Linked DNA regions of Homo sapiens: all the other regions are linked to region 1. Evidence: promoter capture Hi-C in 16 types of primary human blood cells and fetal thymus (Javierre and others, 2016). All regions are on one chromosome and are shown on one strand. The core of a region is centred on a gene start or on the middle of the fragment in contact, and the rest is flanking DNA. Distances in the headings are between cores, read along the strand shown. Region 1 holds the start of ANAPC10 (anaphase promoting complex subunit 10). Region 2 overlaps ARHGAP10 (Rho GTPase activating protein 10). Region 3 overlaps TMEM184C (transmembrane protein 184C).

Region 1 (4,250 bases), core at 894-3,393:
AACTGCTTGGGGTCAGCACCAGGAGGTGTCTTGTTTGGTGTAGTCATTTTTAAAATATTCTATGTAGAAAACAAGAATGCACACATTGTATCAGGAACTGGGCATCTTTCTACAAAAGTTTTTTACCAAGAAAAATTTAATGGAACTCATATACCCTGACATTAATCATTTATTCTGAAGAATGCAGTTAATATAATTAAATCACTGTAATTTAAATCTTAGGGGCTGGGCATGGTGGCTCACACCTGTAATCCCAACACTTTGGGAGGCTGAGACAGGAGGATCATGTGAGCCCAGGAGTTCAAGACCAGCCTGGACAACATGGCAAGACCCCATCTCTATTTTTAAATAAATAAAAATCTTAGGAATTCAGGTTTTGTTTCATATGACCAGATATGCAAAGCAGTGAGCTATAGTAGTCAAAAGAGCACAGAATCAAAGTTTTGGCTTCAGTATCTCCTTTAATCAGCCTAGACTTTGAGTAGGTCTGGGCTTTATTTCCTCTCCTGTTAAAGAGGTTCACTTGATGATTTTTACTTCTACAATGCTATGCAGTTCTATAATTCTGTGCCTGAAAATTCAAATGACTTTTAGCCCTAGAAAAGTCAGACTGAAATACTTTTATTCTAGGAATATATAAATATTGATCCTCATTTTATTTACTTAATTCCTTTTTTTTTAGAGACAGGATCTAGCTATGTTACCCAGGCTGGTCTTGAACACCTTGCTTCAAGCGATCCTCCCACCTCAGCCTCCCAAGTAGCTGGGATTACAGGTGTGATCCCATCACCCCACTAAGATCCTCATTTTAAATATTCATTGAGTGATGCAGAGAACAGTCATACCTGCCCTCTAGCTGTCAAAAGTTTTATTTAAGACCCAGCCCGGTGGCTCACACCTGTAATCCCAGCAGTTTGGGAGGCCAAGGCAGGTGGATTGCTTGAGCCCAGGAGTTCGAGACCAGCCTGGAATATGGTGAAACCCTGTCTCTAAAAAAATTCCAAAAAATCAGCCTGGTGTGGCGGCACACACCTGTAGTCCCAGGGGGGCTGAGACAGGAGGATCACCTGAACTGGGAGGCGGAGGTTGCAGTGAGCCGAGATCGTGCTACTGCACTCCAGCCTGCGTAACAGAGCAAGACACTGTCCCAAAAAGCACAAAAATAAGAAAAAAATGTTAAAAGTTCACTTACATATGCTCTTACCATAGAAGATAAGGTCAGGAAAATGGCTTCAAGATTTTGAAGTGAATAACTGGCCCATTCTAAAAAGGTTGACCTCATCTTTCACATCTTTTGTTAATTTTACTAAGTCTATTCATATGTGAAAAAACACTTCAATACTGGATCGTGAACAATATGTAAAACTGCTTTGGTAGCGCAGTTACTGCTACTGAACATTGTTATATATGCTATTCAAAATAGGTGCAATAGTTCTGCATACCGTTTCCTTGACACCTCCCATTGTATCCGAAGTTGTTCTTTAATCGGCACACAAGCACTTGATACTTACTAAATAACGGCAGACACAACGGACTGTAAACTTTGGCAAGGCCTGAGGCTTAAACGCTCAATAAGTAATTTACTGAATGAATAAACAGATGAATAGGTTCAGTTATGAACTAGTTGTCACTTGCCTGCAAGTTAGGTGAGATCTAGGGCGAGACTATTCAACCTGCAACCATCATTACTAACTGAATGTCCTGTTACCTAAAAAAAGATAGAAATAAAGCCCATCTTTAGGGCAGAATTCAACTGCCGGACTTGGGACTGGACGCCACCAAGTGGATAAAATATGGAGCTCGGAAAAGATTGGATTCCCGGCCCTGAACTGACCACACAGTTGAGAGGAAGTTGAGGCCTAGAAGAGCGCGCAACAGTAAGCCGTGTCGGCACCAGACTCTGTTGGTCCTACTGACACCTCCAGCGTTAGAATGACTAAGGCTCCACTCCTGACCCACCGGCCTTGAGGAAAGCGCAAACGTAAAAAAAGATTGAAACCGGAGAGGCGAATGCATCTGTTTACGCTAGGACCACGCTCGACGTCGGAGAAAAGCCCACACACTCACAGTTTCCAGACCTGGCTGCTTGCCGAAACTCAGATTCTCGGCACCTCCAGCAGCTGGCTTCGCCAACGGCGTTGAACAAGGGTCGCAGCTCAATGACGTCATATCTCCCTACCTACCTCCAGGGTTCCGCCTCACGCTCTATGTCGCGCGCGCGCACTACGTCCTATGGCTTGCGCGTGCGGCGGCTGGGCACCGCCATTTTGGCCGGTGGCCGTGAGAACACGCTGTGTGGCTGAAAAGTGAAGGCAAGAGCTGATTTGGCCTCTGTGCTCCCCTCCGCAAGGGGATCGTTTTCTCCAGGTACGTGAATAGCCCGGAGAGGTTTGGCCGTTAGCTGCCATCTGCCAGGTTGGAAAGAATGTAGGGACGTTCTCCGAGAGCCTTTGGTTAGGCCTTAGGTGGCGGAGACAGCAGCAGCGCGTGGCAGCGGTTCCTGCGGGACAGCTGGAACTGATGGAGCGCGGGCGACGCCGAGAGCTTGGGGGCGCCTCGGTCTTCCCCTCCAGCCGACCCGGCTGTCGCCGCTGTTGCCTGCCACACCCGCGAGGGACTTCGAGAATGGACCTAGATGCCGTAGTCTCCACTCCCCCTTTACCCCACTCCCGCCCTGAAGCTAAACCTGCTGGAGAGGAAGGCACCTTTAGAACTTACAGCACTCTCTAGTACCCCCACACTCCTCCAGCACCCAAAATGGATATATTGTCACATGTGCATATTTGGTTGTGGGAAGTCGTGGCTTCCACGTTTTGTTGAGTGGAATGAGTCATGGCATCTTGCCGCCATGAAGTCGAATACTCGCTGTCCACTCCCAGGCTTTATAGAAATGATGCCCACATGTCACTCTGCTTTTCTCAGAACAGCGTGTACGCAGCTATGACTGGGGTTGTCCCAAGTAGTTTCCCAGTAGAAATCCTATAGTTTTTTTGGTACGCTTTTGTAGCACTAGGCACTTTCTCCCCTTACCCGTTTTTCCTTTTATTGTATCTAATACTCATTGAGATCAAGGTTGATGTCTTTACTCAGAATACCTTTATTATCTCTTCAGGGCTTCGTACATTGTAGGCATTTAATACGTATTGTGAATGAATGACAGCCAAAGCCGAATTCCCACCTCCCATTAACTACATAAGCTTATTTTCTCTTTTTTGATGGTAAAAATCTATAAGAGGAAGAACTGTCCAAATAACATGTTTTATTTTTTTACTCTTTCCCAACAGGACTGCTAACTAGTCATTTATGATAGTGGCATTTATGTTGCAGTAGTTTGTCCCATATTCTGAGAATATTCATTGTATACCAGCCACCTGACACTAATACTTTGTTAGTGTAACCAAAGGCTCAGAACCTGTATTTGAACCAAAAGCTGTTTGGGGTTTGTGAGCTTTTTGAGAACTTAGTTCTCCCCTATTTTAAAAAAGGGAGTTTTTTTGTTTGTTTGTTTGTTGGAAGAGCATCTAACAATTGGGAGAGAGGGGGAGAAAACAATATTAAGTTAGAGTTCTTCTAAATGTCTTAAACTTAAAACTCTTTGAAATCAGAGCCGTGTACCACTCCTAACTTCTACGTGTTTTGTAAGACTAATAAACTACAATAAGCATGGGTTAGACTATTTCATGTGATACTAAACATCATTAGTTAACAGCAGTCTTTGAAATGCTTTTACACAGCGTTACAATTATTTTGGCTTTAGACTGTAAATGCTTCTAAGTATTCCTCACTTCCTTTTTTCCTCTCAGCTGTAAGAATGACACTGAGGGTCATTGTTCTAGTGTCAATTTTGAACACTTTTGTCTTCGAATCTGAAATATCCGCAAATCCTTCTTTGTTTGCAGGAGCCTGTTAACTATAATCTTCCTCTCCAAGCTTTACTGTGCCTAGGTTTTCTATTGAAAAACAAGTAGGGAATCCCCTTGCCCCAATTATTGAAACTGATACAGAAATTGAATTAAAAGTGTTCACACAGTTAATTAACAGTTCTACAAAGAATCCATGTTCATTTTTCTTAAATGCATTACAATTTATCACTATTTTTATATAAATCAGTTTATTAACCACTTCTGGTATGTTTTTATTCTACTGTAAAAATCAAGCCAGGGTAGTGACATGCACCTATAGTCCCAGCTATTCGGGAGGCTAAAGCAAGAGGATCCCTTGAGCCCAGGAGTCCCAGTCTGTAGTGTCCT
Region 2 (4,250 bases), core at 538-3,037, 2.8 Mb after region 1:
TGATAATACACGTAATATTCCCATTGCTACATGATCTCAAGGAAGGCAACCATGTGCAATTTCTGCCACCTTAGCCTATAGCTCTATCTTTTAAAAATTTCTCTGAAATAATTTATACTAGAATGAGTGAACATGGGTTGTTTATACCGGTTCAAACTTTGGTACTTTAAACAATCGTTTGTAACATGACTTCAAACACAATTCACAATGCTTATGGCAATCTAAGTTTAGAAGCAGGATATGGAACATTTGAGACAATTTTGTGAGTTACTCTAACATTTCTTTTTACTTATATTAGAAACACATGATTTTTGTTTGTGATTATATAGATGTTTTCTAGTAGCTTCAGTTGTTTATATATGAAGATGTATGCACATGAATGTATATATCATAATGTAAAGGATATTTCATGTGGATTTCAGCAAAAAAACACTGGATCTCATTCTCAGGATTCATTTTAATTTTAATATCGACTTATTGAATGGTTTCTTTTTCTTAAACAGCTTTATTAAGATAATATTCACACAGTATACAATTTACTCATTGTGAGTATGGTTTATAGAAACAAGAATAACCAAGTAATGATTAAAAATGAGCATTTGTGGAGCTATGGTTTAGTTGGAGCGATAGTCATTAACCTAAACCATTAGAGAAAAACTCAACCTCCTCAAAGCTTTCTTTTTAATGTGAAATAATAATAATGGCCTGCTTTTATTGGGCATTTATAATGCTCAGTCTCTGTTCAAGCCATTGTTCTAAGTGTTGTACCGAACTCATTATTCCACACTATAACTCAATGAGGAGATAAGGAAATAGAAGTAGAGAAAGGCTGAGTAATTTGCCTAAGGTCCCATAACAGGTCATGGCTGACGTTGGGAATGGAGCCTGCTGGGTGTCAGAGCCCCAGATTCCTAACCACCCACGGTGTGGCATTTGGAAGAAAATGAATCTCAAGATTTCCTTAACTGTCTCCCCAGATCACTTCTTTTTACTTCTAGATTTATTGACTTACATGTGGAGCAGAGGCAACAGCCCTCTAATTCAGAGACAGGTTGGGAGTTGGTAGGAAAGTAAAGGTTTAATTACGGGTTTGAGGCTGCCCCTGGCAAGTCATGGAATATCTTTGTCAACAAAACACAGGGGTTGCAGTCTGCTGGATGTGGCTGGGGAGAGCCTGGAGCTCTTTGATTCTGTGATTTTACTTTCTTAAAGATTGTGTCAACCTATAGTGATAAGATTTCAATTACAAATATTGGGATTCTCCTGACTAAAGAGGACAAATGGATGACTTAATAATTCAATTTTTCCTGCAGAACATGCCATATAAGCTGTCTAATGGCTGTGATATTTAAGGGAAAAAAGCATCATTTTCTATAAAGACCAATTAATAGATAATATGTACTTGTGTTTACTTGAATATTAGTGACTTCCCTTTAATCAGTTTATTTCAGTGGAATAACAGTGAGATGGCGGGGGGAACACTTGGTTGTTTATATGATTCTTTTTTTCTCCTGAGTTTTTTTGTGCTAATATCTCTTTTCTTCCTGTGTCTTAGATGCTGTCATTTTTTCAGGGGATGTTTACCTTCTATCATCAGGGCCATGAACTTGCCAAAGACTTCAATCACTACAAAATGGAACTACAGATCAACATTCAGAATGTAAGGAAGTGAAAGCTTTCTTTATAAAAAGATGTTTGAAAAGTATTTTTCATTTGTGTGTTGTATGAAAAGCCTTAATTAAATGAAGACAATGCTGATCTGTTTGTACTGAGAAACTGAGGGTATGCTGCCACCTGCTGGTCAACTCTTGGTGTGACCAACTGCTCTACAGTTGGTTGAGGCTTGGGAAATTCTGCCACCTGGCGGCTTTTCCTGCAGTTTCTGGGTCAATTCTAAGGATAAGCTTTGTTATGTTAACTCTAAATCAGCTATGTCTGCTACAGACAAAAGAGCACTCCACTTTAAGGCATTGAATTTATAATGCACTACTTAACTGGGCATCTTGATTTTTGTTCCCAGATAGGCTTATCATTTGAGTAGAATTTCTTCCCTACATTTTATGCATATTTACTAATGCATTGGTGTTTACAGTTGCTATTGGTCTTGAATATTTTCCTTTGGAAAATGTGTGCTTTCTGCCAGGTCTCGGATAAAGAGATTTAGGAGAATGTTATTAAGCAGTACACTATATGTCATTTTGATCAGGTGGTATATGTTTTTCCTCTCAGTGCTAGTTGATCCTGGAAGCGTCCTCACTGACAAGCTGGTCAGGGTATGTTGAGTGTAATTTGAGGTCTCATTAGGAATGTAGTGAGATAGCTTTGTGACAGACTCACAGCACATAGTGAAAGACACACAGGTAGATGGATGGGAAGCTGTGGTTGTTGCCTGCTCTTCATTTCTTTCACAATTAGAAGTTGAGAGTGGGCCGGGCACAGTGGTTCATGCCTGTAATCCCAGCACTTTGGGAGGCCTAGGCGGGCAGATCGCGAGGTCAAGAGATTGAGACCATGCTGGCCAACATGGTGAAACCCTGTCTCCACTAAAAATACAAACATTAGCTGGGTGTGGTGGAGTGCGCCTGTAATCCCAGTTACTCGGGAGGCTGAGGCAGGAGAATTGCTTGAATCCGGGAGGTGGAGGTTGCAGTGATCCGAGACCGTGCCACTGCACTCCAGCCTGGGCGACAGAGTGAGACTCTGTCTCAAAAAAAAAAAAAAAAAAAAAAAGTTGAGAGTGAATACCTTTTGTGTAGATTTTGTTTCTAACTTTTTTTTTTTTTTATGTACAGTTCCTTATACTAAGGAGTGTAGCTGATAAAACCTTATTTTTATAATTTATGTGTCAACTTGTATTTGAGGATTGTTTGGACATTCAGCTGGGCTAATGATAGAGTTCTGGAGTAGATTCTTTTTCTGCTGCTGTGGTCTCACAATTTGTGAAAACAGTTATAAAATATGTGGTATGACTATAATGTGACAAAACTTAAAAATCCAAAATGGGTATGTGTGGATTCATTCTAGTCACCCCAAAATTGTCCCTGCAGGTAGTAGAATATTGAGTCTAATGTTGTTGAGTTTTTTTTGTTTTTTTTTTTGAGACAGGGTGTCACTCTGTCGCTGAGGCTGAAGTGCAGTGGCACAACCACTGCTCACTGCAGCCTCAACCTCCTAGGCTCAAGTACTCCTCCTGCCTCAGCCTCCTGAGTAGCTGGGACTGCAGGTGCATGCCAGCACACCCAGCTAATTTTTTTTCTTTTTGGTAGAGATGGCATCTCATTGTGTTGCCCAGGCTGCTCAAACTTCAGGGTTCAAGTGATCCTCCTTCCTCAGCCTCCCAAGATCCTGGCATTACGGGGGTGAGCCACCATGCCTGGCTGATGTTGAGATTATTCAGAATATTTTTGCAGGCAGCAGAAAACAGTTATGTAAAAAGAACAGTAGATAGTTCACGTAAGTGGTCCCCAACCTTTTTGGCACCGGGGACTGGTTTTAAGGAAGACAATTCTATAGATGCAGTGGGGGTGGGAGAAGGTAGGGGATGGTTTCGTGATGAAACTTTTCCACCTCAGGTCATCAGGCATTAGATTCTCATAAGGACTGCACAATCTAGATCCACGTGCGCAGTTCACAATACGGTTCATGCTCCTATGAGAATCTGATGCCACCGCGGATCTGACAGAAGGTGGACTCAGGCTCACCTGCCGCTCACCTCCTGCCATGTGACCCGGTTCCTAACAGGCCATGGACCGGTACCTGTCGGCAGCCTGGGGGTTGGGGACCCCTGCTTGAGATTATAACTTATGTTTTCCCCTCTGCTTACTGGCTATATAATCTGTGGAAATTCACCTTGTCTGTCTGGACCTCATCTGTTAAGTGCAGGGCTGGCCAGAATGAGAACCTTCAGGCAGGACTGTATATACAACTTCTAGAATCAAGGTAAAATGAAGAAGATAGTGCCCCTTATTTAGAGATAATTAAGAGTTTCAGATCAGAGGCATTTGATCATTAAAGCAAGCAGAAGCTCTTCTGAGCGCAGGGCCCTGTGGACTGCATAGGTGAATGCCCTGAAGCCAGCTCTCTGCCTCAGACTCTGGGGTGAGCTGTGGGGAAACATCAGTCTCTTGGGATGTTGAGTGAAACTCCTTGCACGGCTCGTTTATTTGTGGAAGTGTGTTTATAACACACCTGTTGGGGGGGCGTCTGTTTACCTTATATAAACCAAAAAACTTTCAGAGGCATTAAATATT
Region 3 (4,250 bases), core at 1,079-3,578, 2.5 Mb after region 1:
GTGCATGTAACTTTTATATAGCTCAAAAATCAAAACAACTGTAAAACCAATAATTAAAATTAATGACATTAATGTGGAGAGATGATGTTTTTCTGAAACTAAATTACCACTTGCACTGTAAAAATGATATTATGTGGTACAGGATTTTAAAATTTGGCCTGCAGTGACCAAGTCTCTAGTCACTTGTTTTATGATTGTTTAAAAAACAAAAACAACTTTCTTCTTTATAGCACACTGAGGACACTTGACCTTCATTAGTCACAAGCACATCATTTTTCTCTTAAGTGTACCACCAAGTTCTAGTTTTTGGAACTAAAGCAATCAAAATAAGCAATTACTTGGCAATACTTTTTTTTCTTTTTTTCTTTCTTTTTTTTTTTTTGAGCCAGGGTCTCGCTCTGTCACCCAGGCTGGAGTGCAGTGGCGCGGTCATGGCTCACTGCAGCTTTGACCTTCTGGGCTCAAGTGATCCTCTGGCACCCGGCTAATTTTTTGTATTTTTTGTAGAGATGGAGTTTTGCCATGTTGCCCACACTGGTCTCACACTATTGGACTCAAACCATCTGCCCTCCTCAGCCTCACAAAGTGTTGGGATTACAGGCATGAGCCACCGCGCCTGGCCGCAGTACCATCCTTTATAATAAAGGAGATCTAGAATATGCTTATCCTATTATTATTTTCTTAGATCATCACTGAAATTTCACTTCCCTTGGTTTCAGTAACCTGTTGTCCACCATGGTCTGAAAATATTAAATGAAAAATTTCAGAAATAAGTAATTTGTAAGTTTTAAATAACTTATTACAATATATAATTGTTCTATTTTCTTGTTAACCACTTACTGTGTGTCCAATTTATGAATTAAACTTTATCATAAGTATATATGTATAGGAAAAAACATAGTATATGCATATAGGATTTGGGACTATCTATAGTTTTAGGTATTCACTGGGGGTCTTGGAACCTAATCCCCACATATAAGTGGGGACTACTGTACTCAATTTTAAATGAAATGGATAAAAGCAAAAAGCCCTGTAATATGAGTGCTCAGACATTCCTTTTAGAGTCTTACGTCCATATATTTGCTTTTCATTTACTGTTTGATTAACGCCCCCACAATCAGTAAGACTTTGTATTAGCTTTTGGTTTGTTTTTGTTTTTGAGACAGGGTCTCACTCTGTTGCCCAGGGTGGAGTACGGTGGCACAAATCATGGCTCACTGTAGCCTTGAACTCCTGGGCTCAAGCAGATCTCCCACCTCAGTCTTCCTAGTAGGTAGGACTACAGGCACATGCTTCCACGCCTCGCTAATTTATTTTTTGTAGAGATGGCATCTCGCCATGTTGCTCAGGCTGGGCTGGATGGAACCCCTGGGCTCAAGCAATCATGAGCCACCTCACTCAGCCCTTTTCAAGCTTTCTATACATTTTAATGTGGAAATTTGTTGTTGTAAAAATGCATTTGTTCTCCATACTTTTGTTTTCTACCTCTTTTATCTTTGGCCCCTGGTAGAGGAAGAAAAAGTCCTGTTCAAACAGTGAAACTGGGCCGTGCACGGTGGCTCATGCCTGTAATCCCAGCACTTCAGGAGGCGGAGGCGGACGGATCACTTGAAGTCAGGAGTTCCAGACCAGGCTGGCCAACAGGGCGAAACCCCATCTCTACTAAAAATACAAAAAAATTAGCTGGGTGTGTAATCCCAGCTATTTGGGAGGCTGAGGCAGGAGAATCGCTTGAACCCCGGAGGCAGAGGTTGCAGTGAGCCAAGATCGCGCCGCTGTACTCCAGCCTGGGCAACAGAGCAAAACTGTCTCAAAAAAAAAAAAAGAAAAAGAAAAGAAACAGTGATACTTAAGGTTGTAGACCTTAGTTCTATTTTAATTGTAAACTGCTCAACCCTTCAAGCATCAAAAATAAATGCCCACCTTTTCCCCTTAAAAAAAAAAAAAGATTCATACTCTTCAAGGCAAGATTACAAGTTAATATAAAAGTCCCCCCTCCCCCACAAATTTTTTTCAATTTTTTAATTTTTTTTTTTTGTAGTGACGGGTTCTCACTTTGTAGGCCCAGGCTGGTTTCAAACTCCTGGCCTCAAGCGATCCTCCCACCTCGGCCTCCCCAAGTGCTAGGATTATAGGCACAAGGCACTGAGCCTGGCCAAGCTCTTTTGTTTTAATATCAGAATTTATATTAACATGTTATTTTGTTTCTTAAGGTTGGAATACACACCAAGGCTTGGTTTATTGCTGGAATCTTTTTGCTGTTGACTATTCCTATATCACTGTGGGTGATATTGCAACACTTAGTGCATTATACACAACCTGAACTACAAAAACCAATAATAAGGTATGTCTTAATAATTTTGATTCCACTACTGTTGTGTTGGCTTATTTCATAAATATGACATAAAATGTTTTAAATTTCTGTTTTCCTTTTCCAATAGGATTCTTTGGATGGTACCTATTTACAGTTTAGATAGTGTAAGTATGTTTCATTTTTATCTCATTAACTAAGGACTTGTTTGATGATACTATAATTACAGAATGCTTAAGATAATGAAAGTATGTTATTGACAAGGAGTCAGATTAATAAGTAAAAAGGTTCACTTGTTTCTAATGATAGAGAATATAAAGTATAATTAAAAATGTAAAATGTTATATTATAAATGTTTAAAAATCTATAGCTGTTTGCTTTCTTTTAAACTTTCAGATTGTTAAAGAATGTAATATTTTAAATTAATATACTACTCTTTTTATTTATTACGTCTTTTATTTGAATCAAAAATTTAAAAACCTTCCCCAGTGGATACACATGAAATTGTTGTAGATGACTGCTTCTAATATGAGTAAATATTAAAGGAAATATCTTTAGCAGCATTATCTATGATCATATTAAGAAAAACTTCAGATTTAAGAACACAAGTACTTACTTTAGCTTCTCTCTTTATTCATTATTTACCCCTCAAACACTTGTTTTTGTTTACCAATATCTAAGATGTTTATTGCTTTTAAGCATTCATTTCACAGATTGATAGCCCTCATAATGATAAATTTTAGAGAGTCCCATGTAAGTATATGACAAGACATCTCAAGCATAAAAATTAGCTTATTGTGAGTACCATGAATGGAGTGGTGATTCATTTTATCTTAGCTGCAACTATCTTTAACATCTGTGCTTTTTCATAGTGGATAGCTTTGAAATATCCCGGAATTGCAATATATGTGGATACCTGCAGAGAATGCTATGAAGCTTATGTAATTTACAACTTTATGGGATTCCTTACCAATTATCTAACTAACCGGTATCCAAATCTGGTATTAATCCTTGAAGCCAAAGATCAACAGAAACATTTCCCTCCTTTATGTTGCTGTCCACCATGGGCTATGGGAGAGTAAGTATGTTTGGTTTAATTCTTTTATGTTTTGGTTTTTCATTTAAGCAGAGTTTTTAAGTAGCAATCAGCTCTTTACAAGGCAGTGCATTAAGTATTAATAGCAGAACAATAAGTATAAGACAGCTCCTGATGCAGTTCATAGTTGTTTGAAGGCTAACAAAACAGTTTTGTAATCCCACATATATGTTAGTCTTTTTTACATTATTAATCCCAAATCCAAAAATTAAAGTATTGCAGGTAAAAACAGTAATCATTTAATCAATATGCTTTTGCAGTTGAGAACCAAGGTCTGCAGATCTTATGTAAGAACACACAGCTAGTTAAAAGACATAGACAAGATAATGTAGGTTGTAGAACCACATATGATATGAAGTAGGAGCAATAAGTAACAGTGTTTGGTAACATAATACATCAGCTTGCCTTATTATATGTTCATGTAGGACATTAAAACTTATGTCATTTCATTTTGAAAAATAAATTGAGTTTACAATTGCATTTATTATAGAAATGAACCACTTGGTATTTTTCAGCAAGCAAACATTTGGAAACAGTGTTTTAGAAAGATTAATTTTGCAATATCATAAAGGATGAATTGGAAGGAAGAAGATTCCAGAGATGGAGAAATAAATTAGGAGTTTATAATAATCTATTTGTGAAATAAAACTGAAAAGGGGGATGAGATTGGAATAGAAAAGAAAGGCAATAAGAGAATGCAACTGAAAAATCAATAGGACATGTCCACTAATGCAACCGCCCAAGGGGTTCACTTTGCCAGCCACCTAGACAGAACCGATTCATCAAGACGGGAATTGCAAAAGATAAAGAGTAATTCAGACAGAGCCAGCTGTGCGGGAGACA

The links. Contacts are between HindIII fragments. The CHiCAGO score rates a contact against its expected background, and 5 or more counts as called.
Region 2: a fragment that was not itself captured here is called in contact with the fragment with the promoter of ANAPC10 in region 1 in 1 of 17 cell types (fetal thymus); the score reaches 5.4 in fetal thymus.
Region 3: a contact is called between a fragment that was not itself captured here and the fragment with the promoter of ANAPC10 in region 1, in 5 of 17 cell types (total CD4 T cells, non-activated CD4 T cells, M2 macrophages and 2 more). The highest score is 8.8, in total CD4 T cells.

Annotation. Positions count from the first base shown.
Region 1 is chr4:145,096,053-145,100,302 of GRCh38, forward strand. It overlaps ANAPC10 (anaphase promoting complex subunit 10), which reads right to left and starts at 2,144. Exons shown (of 5, transcript NM_001256706.2): 1 at 2,068-2,144; 2 at 1-59. The coding sequence starts at 47. ABCE1 (ATP binding cassette subfamily E member 1) reads left to right here and starts at 2,259. Exons shown (of 18, transcript NM_002940.3): 1 at 2,259-2,367. RefSeq lists enhancers at 1,399-2,270, 1,518-2,717, 1,851-1,900, 1,981-2,240, 2,271-3,142 and 1 more. The HindIII fragment of the contact is 4,584 bases long and covers 1-3,195 here.
Region 2 is chr4:147,865,157-147,869,406 of GRCh38, forward strand. ARHGAP10 (Rho GTPase activating protein 10) reads left to right here. Exons shown (of 23, transcript NM_024605.4): 7 at 1,556-1,660. Among named protein-coding and RNA genes, the nearest start is that of MIR4799, 85 kb to the left of the region's middle. RefSeq lists enhancers at 1,642-2,319, 2,320-2,996 and silencers at 1,749-1,973, 1,772-1,821. The HindIII fragment of the contact is 229 bases long and covers 1,674-1,902 here.
Region 3 is chr4:147,621,621-147,625,870 of GRCh38, forward strand. TMEM184C (transmembrane protein 184C) reads left to right here. Exons shown (of 10, transcript NM_018241.3): 2 at 2,214-2,344; 3 at 2,442-2,478; 4 at 3,184-3,389. Among named protein-coding and RNA genes, the nearest start is that of TMEM184C, 6.3 kb to the left of the region's middle. The HindIII fragment of the contact is 1,834 bases long and covers 1,412-3,245 here.